Linked DNA regions of Homo sapiens: all the other regions are linked to region 1. The links are contacts of gene promoters, found by promoter capture Hi-C in blood cells and fetal thymus (Javierre and others, 2016). All regions are on one chromosome and are shown on one strand. Each heading gives the region's core, a stretch centred on a gene start or on the middle of the fragment in contact. The rest is flanking DNA. Distances are from core to core; before and after follow the strand shown.

Region 1 (2,700 bases), core at 72-2,571:
TTTCCTAAACTCTGCCTTTGCCCTTAACACCTCACCCACAGAGAACGCCGAGCCAGGGTCCCTCACCTGGCCTGGATGAAGCGGTGGCATGCCTGGACCACGTGCTCCATCTGCAAATAGGTGGCGGCCGCTAGGACTGCTGGTGCAGTGGCTGGAGAGAGGCGCAGGCGCGAAGTGTACATGAAGTCCAATAGAGGGGCGAAGCCTCTCGCTTCGGGACCCCCGGGCAGAGAGAGCACGTCCACCCCGACTCCCGCACGGCCCCGGAAAATTGAATAGAAGAAGCCACTAGAGAGAGAGCAGATAAGTCCTTTGGGGGCTGGGGAACCAAGGGAGACATGCGCAGCTTCAGGAAGCCCCGCCCCCTGAAAAAGTCCCGCCTCCTCACTATCACCCCGCCCCCAATTCTGGGACGCTCCGCCTCCTGCTTCTGAAAGACTTGGCTTCGGATTCCCTCTCAACGGCCCTGTGGTCCCACCCCTTTCCCATTTGGCCCCGCCCCAGGCCCCACCCCTCGAACCTGCAGGCGATGAGAACTGCCTTGTGTGCTCTGAGGGGTTGCCCGCCAACCAGCAGCGTGACGTCAGTGAGGATCCCGCGCAGGCGCAGCTCGTTGAGGTTGCCCAGCACGTCGGAGGAGTGGCGAGTGAACTCGCGGACGTAGCCCAGCGCTCCCTCCGGGGCGGCGGGGGAACCCATAGCGACACAGGCCTGTAGAGGCCGTGGAAAGTGCTCTGGATCCAGGCAGTCCTAAGACGCCTTCCCTCCTCTGTTTGCCTTTTCCTTCCGAGGTGCAACTAGAGCCAGGACTTCCAGCCCCTAGCCCCGGCACACGCAGCCTCCCTCCTAATTCTTCTTGTTCATTCTGCCCTCTACGACACCCTCGCTCCCTTGCCTCTTCCAGATCCCACAGCGCTTGGAGCCAGTTGAAGGTTCCACACCGCGGCGTCGTTGGCGAGCGTGGGGAATCCCGCGCCCATCGCCCTGGGTTCGACCCCCAGTGCCCCTCCAGCACCGCCACTCCCCTCTGCGCGCCTGTGTCTCAGGTGTCCAACCCTGCCTCGAGATCTCACGGCCTGCCGTCCACACACCTCCAAATCCCAGCCGAGGCTCCCTTCCCCGAACTACGGAATTCTGCGACTCCTATCTAGTCCCCAATCCCTAGTTTAGCCCAATTTCTGGGACTCAGGCTCGCTGATGGCAAGCTCCACACAAGCTCCTACCCTCTTGGGGGACCCAGGAGTCTGGCTCCCTCAGTCTCTTGTTCTTACCCCCGTCCTGCAGGGGCCGCGGCTTCTCTTCTTAAGGGGGGCGGGGTCTCTCTCCCCTCTTGGCCTCGGCTCCTTTATCTGGCCGGGATGTCGGGGGCGGGGGTGGAGGTGGGGTGAACGCCTGGGTCTGTATCCTTCCTTCCTCCCTCGCTCTCCAGATGGCGAGTCCAGGGCGGGGTCTCCGTCTCGAGGGCGGGACCTCAGAAACAAGGGGTGGTCGTAACGTAGGGGGTCTTGGGTCACTGCAAGTGGACACGAGGACGGGGATATTGGAATTGGGGAGGAGGTTAGGGATATCGAGGTTGGCAATACGGGAGTCTGAGTCGTCGGAAGGCCTGGGCCAGTGAAAATTGGTGTGTTGGCTTTTGGGAGGGTTTGCCAGGAGCCAACCTTTGCTGCAGGACAAAGTGCATACGGCAACCCCCTCTCCCTCTCTTGTACTGTGTTAAGGGAGAAAAGGGGGAGCCCAACGAGACAGCAGGTTTGGGCAGACGACAGTGGGCTCCCGTAGGGTCTCAGACGGGGAGGGTGTGGTGTGAATGACAGGCTACTCTACCCGGGCCTACAAAAAGGGGGGCTCTGGCCGGGCGGGGTACGGAGAGGGCGGATATGATTTCTAGTTGGTTTCCTTCCATTGTCCTGCGACCGGACGGCTCCGCCAGCTGCTTCCCCTCGAGGAGGTGGGGAAAGCCCCGAGGTGGGGGTGGAGGGGCGAGAGACGCTCGGGAGACCTAGGCGTCCGGCCTCTCTCGCTCCCGACTCTCTTCTGGGTCCTTGTAGGGATCCAGAGAGATGGACTCCCGCCCAAAGCCCGCTTGCTTTCCCCCAATCCCAGCTCACGAGGGCCTCGGGCACCCGCCCGTCGGCTACGCTTGGAGGCTGGCGGGACGCCGGGGTCCAGCGCGGCAAGTAGGCAAGGCTCGGCAATGTGCGGCTCCTTCCACGAGGGGGCGGCCGAGCACTGGCCTCGCCTCGCCCCTCGTCTCCACCCGGCCTGGGGTGCGCTCAGACCCGGGCGCAGGATCCATTTGGTCTGGGCGGCTGAAACCTTTAGCCTCCTCCCCTTTGCGCGGGTTTATTTTGCACCTCTGTCTCCTAGGAGGGGACTAGGGCTGGGCGGAGGGAGCTAGAGTTAGGAGACCGAGGGGACTTTCCCCTCAGGCTGGGGTTCCTACCCGAGGTGAGAAATCGCGGGCTTTAGGAGCCAGGGGAATGGGTGGGACAAGAAGCGGGACCTGAGCCTGGGAACTCCGGGTTTTCTTTTCGAATTAAGCTAGACACTGCTACCCAGATGTCTTTGGAGGTGACTTTTAATTGAACATTAAAATTGGGTGGGGTAAACGAGAAGGGAAAACAAGGAGGAGGGAGAGAGGGCAGGAGGGGGCTTAACCACCCTAATTTGAAGTCCCTGATCTGAGAGATGGGCATG
Region 2 (2,700 bases), core at 22-2,521, 93 kb after region 1:
GGTAGCCGATGTTATGGGTAGCATAATTTGCTGAGTCTAGGTCATGTACCCACTGATGTCGTCATGGTGGCAAGTCAGTGTTGGCCCTGTCCTAACCACAGGGAAGGGGTTCTCTACAGAAAAGTAGAGTTTAGATCTGAGAAGGTAGTTGAGAATGAGTGCCGTATAGTGAATAATAGTAGATTTTTACCCCATTTTACCCCTTTGTCTTTGGTTGTATATATATTCACATACCATTCTAATTATACATATAGTTTCAAAAATGCCTCTGCTTCTCCAAACACAACTATACTTTATATATATTTTCAAAAACAGTTCTACCTCCTTCTTCCAAAGATAAATATCTGTGTTTTGTGTCCTCCATGGCCACCCCTAAGAGAGGTGCAAGGAGGATTTCATTCCTGGGAATTACCTACTTTAATAGCCTGGGTATTTACTGAAGGACTGAAGAATTACAGGCACCTATTTCCAGGCTTGGCATTTTTAAGCAGTATTTAAAACCTCAGTTGACATTTGATGATTCTGTGGCATAATAACCACATCCAGAGATCTTGTCTAAACCTGGACCTTGACTCTTGATCCTCATCTTGTGGTTTCTATTTCTTGCCAATAATCTATTCTGGCTTTTCCCCATCTCCCAAAATAATGCTTTCACTTTGCTGTCTGCTTTGAACAATGTGAAAGACTTGAAGGGGAAAATGAAGCTAAATAATGTGGCATTTCCCCCAAGATTATAACCTACTGGATGCATTTTTATAAGGGATATGATGCTTTTGTCTGGCAAAGAATACCTAGAATATAATATTTGAGAGAGAATCAGACTTCCCAAATTTTCTGGCTCATCCAAGACCCAATATTTTATTTATTCATTTAATCATTTTTTCAACAATTTAAAAAATTGATGGATAATAAGTTACATAGTTTCAGGGCACACATGATAACTTAATACATTCATATAATTTGTATACATCACATCAGTGTACTTGGGATATCCATCACCTTAATATTTGTCTTTATCCTAGAAATGTTTGAATTTTTCTCTTCTAATTTGAAATGTACAGTATGTTTTTGTAAACTATAGTCACCCTACTCATCTGTTGAACACTGGAGCTTATTTCTTCTCTCAACTTTATATTTGTATTGATTTATCAACTTCTTTGAATCCCCTACTTCTGCTACCCTTGCTGGCTTCTGGTAACCACCAATCTACTCTCTACCTTCATGAGATCCACTTTTTCTTAGCTTCCACATATGAGTGAGAACACGTAGTATTTGTCTCTTTGTGTCACTTAACATAATGACTTCTAGTTTTATTTATGTTGCTGCAAATGACAGGATTTTATTCCTTTTTACAGATGAATAATATTCCATTGTGTATATATACCACGTTTTCTTTAGCCATTCATTCGTTGATGGGCACTTAGATCGATTCCATATTTTGGCTATTGTGAATAGTGCTGCAATAAACATGGGCGTGCAGATAGCTCTTTGATATATTCATTTCCTTTCTTTTGGAGATATACCCAGGAGTGGGATTCCTGGATCATATGGTAGCACAATTTTTAGTTTTTTGAGGAACCTCCAAGCTATTCTGTGTAGTAGCTGTACTAATTTCCATTCCCACCAACAGTGTACAAGGGTTCCCTTTCTTCCACATCCTCGCTAGCCTGCGTTATTGCCTGTCTTCTTGATAAAAGCCATTTTAACTGGGGCGAGATGATATCTCATTGATTTGCATTTCTCTAATAATTTGTGATGTTGAATATTTTTTATATGCCTGTTGGCCATTTGTATGGCTTCTTTTGAGAAATGTCTACTCAGATCTATTGCCCATTTTTAAATTGGATTATGTTGTTTTTGTTTGTTTGTTTGTTTTTGCTATTGAGTTGTTTGAGCTCCCCATACCTTCTGGTTATTAACCCCGTCTCAGGTGGTTAGTTATATTTTCTGCCATTCTGTGGGTTTTCTCTTCACTTTATTGATTATTTCCTTTGCTATGCAGAAGTTTTTAGCTTGAAATAATCCCATTTGTCTATTTTTACTTTGTTTGCCTATGCTTTTGAGATCTGACATAAAAAAATCTTCACCCAGACCAATGTCCTGGAGTGATTCCTCAATGTTTTCTTCTAGTAGTTTCATGGTTTGAGGATTTAGATTTAATCTTTAATCAATTTTGATTTGCTTTTTGTATATGGTAAGAGAGAAGGATCCAGTTTCATTCTTCTGCATATAGTTATCTAGTTTTCTTGGCACCATTTATTGAAAAGCCTATCCTTCCCCCCATTATATGTTCTTGGTACCTTTGTTGAAGATGAGCTGGCCGTAAATGTGTGGATTTACATCTGCGTTCTCTATTCTGTCCCATTGGTCTATTCTGTCTGTTTTTATGCCAGTGTCATACTGATTTGGTTACTATAGCTTTGTAGTAAAATTTGAAGTCAGGTAGTGTAATGCCTCCAGCTTTGTTCCTTTTGCTCAGATTGCTTTGGTTATTTGGGGTCTTTTGTGGTTCCATATATGTCTTAAGATTTTTTTCTATTTCTGTAGAGAATGTAATTGGATTGCATTTAATCTGTAAATTGCTTTGAGTAGTATTATAATTTAACCAATATTAAGTATTTCAGTTCGTGAATCTGGAATATCTTTTCATTTTGTTGTGTCCCTTTCAATTTCTTTCCCAATATTTTAGTATGGTATTTC
Region 3 (2,700 bases), core at 6-2,505, 130 kb before region 1:
CACGGTGAAACCCCGTCTCTACTAAAAATACAAAAAATACTCTGGGCGTGGTGGCGGGCGCCTGTAGTCCCAGCTACTCCGGAGGCTGAGGCAGGAGAATGGCATGAGCCTGGGAGGCGGAGCTTGCAGCGAGCCGAGATTGCAACACTGCACTCCAGCCTGGGCAACAGAGCAAGACTCCGTCTCAAAAAAAAAAAAAAAAAAAAAGGAAATACATAGACTGGGTGCGGTGGCTCACTCTTGTAATTCCAGCACTTTGGGAGGCCGAGGCGGGTGGATCACTTGAGGTCAGGAGTTCCAGACCACCCTGGCCAACATGGCGAAACCCCATCTCTACTAAAATTACAAAAATTAGCCGGGTGTGGTGGTGGGCGCCTGTAATCCCAGCTACTCGGAAGCCTGAGGCAGGAGAATCACTTGAACTCGAGAGGCAGAGGTTGCAGTGAGCTGAGATTGCACCTCTGCACTCCAGCCTGGGCAACAGAGTGAGACTCCATCTAAATAAAAAAGAAAAGAAAAGAAATAATGAATTAATTAACATATACATATTTGTAACAAACAAGAAAAGATACCCATGTTTGCTACAGCAGTTATTTCTGCCATGGTTGCAAAGCTGTAGTTGATGTAACTGCCTTCGTTTTTTTTTTTTTTTTTTTTTTTTTGAGACAGAATCTCCCTCTGTCTCCCAGGCTGGAGTGCAGTGGTGTGATCTTGGCTCACTGCAACCTCTGCCTCCTAGGTTCACGCAATTCTCCTGCCTCAGCCTCCCAAGTAGCTGGGATTACAGGCACCCGCCGCCACGCCCAGCTAATTTTTGTATTTTTAGTAGAGATGGGGTTTCACCATGTTTGCCAGGCTGGTCTCAAACTCCTGACCTCAAGTGATCCACCCACCTCAGCCTCCCAAAATGCTGGGATTACAGGCGTGAGCCACCGCGTCTGCCTGTCACTTCTTTCTTCCACTACCCATTGAATGTTCCCTCTGCCTTCAACCAGCACCTTGGCAGACAGGGGGTCTTTTTCTGATGGGAAAACACAAATCATCATTTCTGCAGGGTCTGAAGCCTTTATTGGGTTGTTATAGTTTCTGTGAAATTGTATTACAAGGCATTGGGCCCCCTGAGTTCTAGATACACCCCTTCCCCCACTGTGTAGCAGCAACCTCCTTTCCCCTTGATAACCAGGATCAGTCATCCCAGGCAGTCCAGGGACCTCTCTTTTCCTATTGCTCAGCGGTAGGAAGGGCCCCAAATGGCCACAGGGGAAACCTCCACTTCCAGTTCAGTGGAACTGATTATGTTTCCTGATGGAAGCATTTCACCCTTGGGAATTATGACCTCTAAAGTTGGTAGAACTCAAACACAGGTGAGTTATTAAATGTAATAGGGAGGCCTGGCATGGTGGCTCACCCTGTAATCCCAGCACTTTGGGAGGCCGAGGCGGGCAGATCACGAGGTCAGGAGTTCAAGACCAGCCCGGCCAACGTGGTGAAACCCCATCTCTACTAAAAAAAAAAAAAATACAAAAATCCCAGCTTCTCAGGAGGTTGAGGCAGGAGAATCACTTGAACCTGGGAGGCAGAGGTTGCAGTGAGCCAAGATTGCACAACTGCACTCCAGCCTGGGCAACAGGGCAAGACTCCGTCTCAAAAAAAAAAAAAAAAAGTAATAGGGAGAAAAACACTTTGATTTCTGGACCTGTGAATTCTCACTAGAGAGGAATTGTTCAAATGCTATGGAGTATCCTGTAGGCTGGCACCCCCATCCTGCAGGGGCCTGTCTTCCAGCTGGCATAATTGTGGAGTGTTTACTTGGTAATTCCATTGTATCAGGCAAGTTGCTTCTGGGTGATGGGGTACGTGGTAAGATCAATGGATTCCATGGCTTGAGCCCATATGCCGCAGTTCTTTTGCTGTGAGTTGCTTGCTCTGGAGTGTGTTGTGTATACTATGACAGTGAACACAGCTTTCTGAAACTCCATGGAGGACAGTGCTGGCAGGAGCACTGCGGGCAGGGAAAGGCAAACCTATACGCTGAATTATGAGTCAATTTATATGTTACACCCTTCATGAGGTCCTTCGCCATTAACTTATAAGCTGCTACCAGGTAGGTGACTGGCTGGTCTGTTATTCCCACTCCGCTCTGAGGTCCGGCCTGTGGATTCTTTCTTCTATAATACATTATACCAGGGAAGTTTGGTATCATATCAATCTCAATCAGCAGAGACCACTCCTGAGGACACCAGATATCTTTTTTTTTTTTTGAGACGGAGTCTTGCACTCTCGCCCAAGCTGGAGTGCAGTGGTGTGATCTCGGCTCACTGCAAGCTCCGCCTCCCGGGTTCACGCCATTCTCCTGCCTCAGCCTCCCGAGTAGCTGGGACTACAGGCGCCCGCCACCACACCCGGCTAATTTTTTTTTGTATTTTTAGTAGAGACAGGGTTTCACTGTGTTAGCCAGGATGGTCTCGATCTCCTGACCTCGTGATCCACCTGCCTCGGCCTCCCAAAGTGCTGGGATTACAGGTGTGAGCCGCCGCGCCCGGCCAAGAGGACACCAGATTTCAGTCAACCAACCAAGCAAATCATTAGCGCTGCTCTCAGCTACTTTGACTCACTGCAGTGAACCTAGAATCTCTAGGAAGTGCACTCTTACTAATGAAGGGCTAGGTGGCGCCTAGGCCTGTCTCTGTAATGTGATGG

What was found. The method cuts DNA at HindIII sites, captures the fragments that hold promoters and counts their contacts. A CHiCAGO score of 5 or more calls a contact.
Region 2: a fragment that was not itself captured here is called in contact with the fragment with the promoter of BCL6B in region 1 in 1 of 17 cell types (total CD8 T cells); the score reaches 5.0 in total CD8 T cells.
Region 3: a contact is called between a fragment that was not itself captured here and the fragment with the promoter of BCL6B in region 1, in 1 of 17 cell types (monocytes). The highest score is 6.4, in monocytes.

What each region holds. Positions count from the first base shown.
Region 1 is chr17:7,021,671-7,024,370 of GRCh38, reverse strand. BCL6B (BCL6B transcription repressor) reads right to left here and starts at 1,321. Exons shown (of 9, transcript NM_181844.4): 1 at 1,272-1,321; 2 at 521-711; 3 at 67-288. The coding sequence starts at 699. RefSeq lists a silencer at 2,228-2,367. The HindIII fragment of the contact is 4,378 bases long and covers 1-2,700 here.
Region 2 is chr17:6,928,810-6,931,509 of GRCh38, reverse strand. No RefSeq gene overlaps it. Among named protein-coding and RNA genes, the nearest start is that of ALOX12, 66 kb to the left of the region's middle. The HindIII fragment of the contact is 4,694 bases long and covers 1-2,700 here.
Region 3 is chr17:7,148,041-7,150,740 of GRCh38, reverse strand. No RefSeq gene overlaps it. Among named protein-coding and RNA genes, the nearest start is that of ASGR1, 30 kb to the left of the region's middle. The HindIII fragment of the contact is 6,446 bases long and covers 1-2,700 here.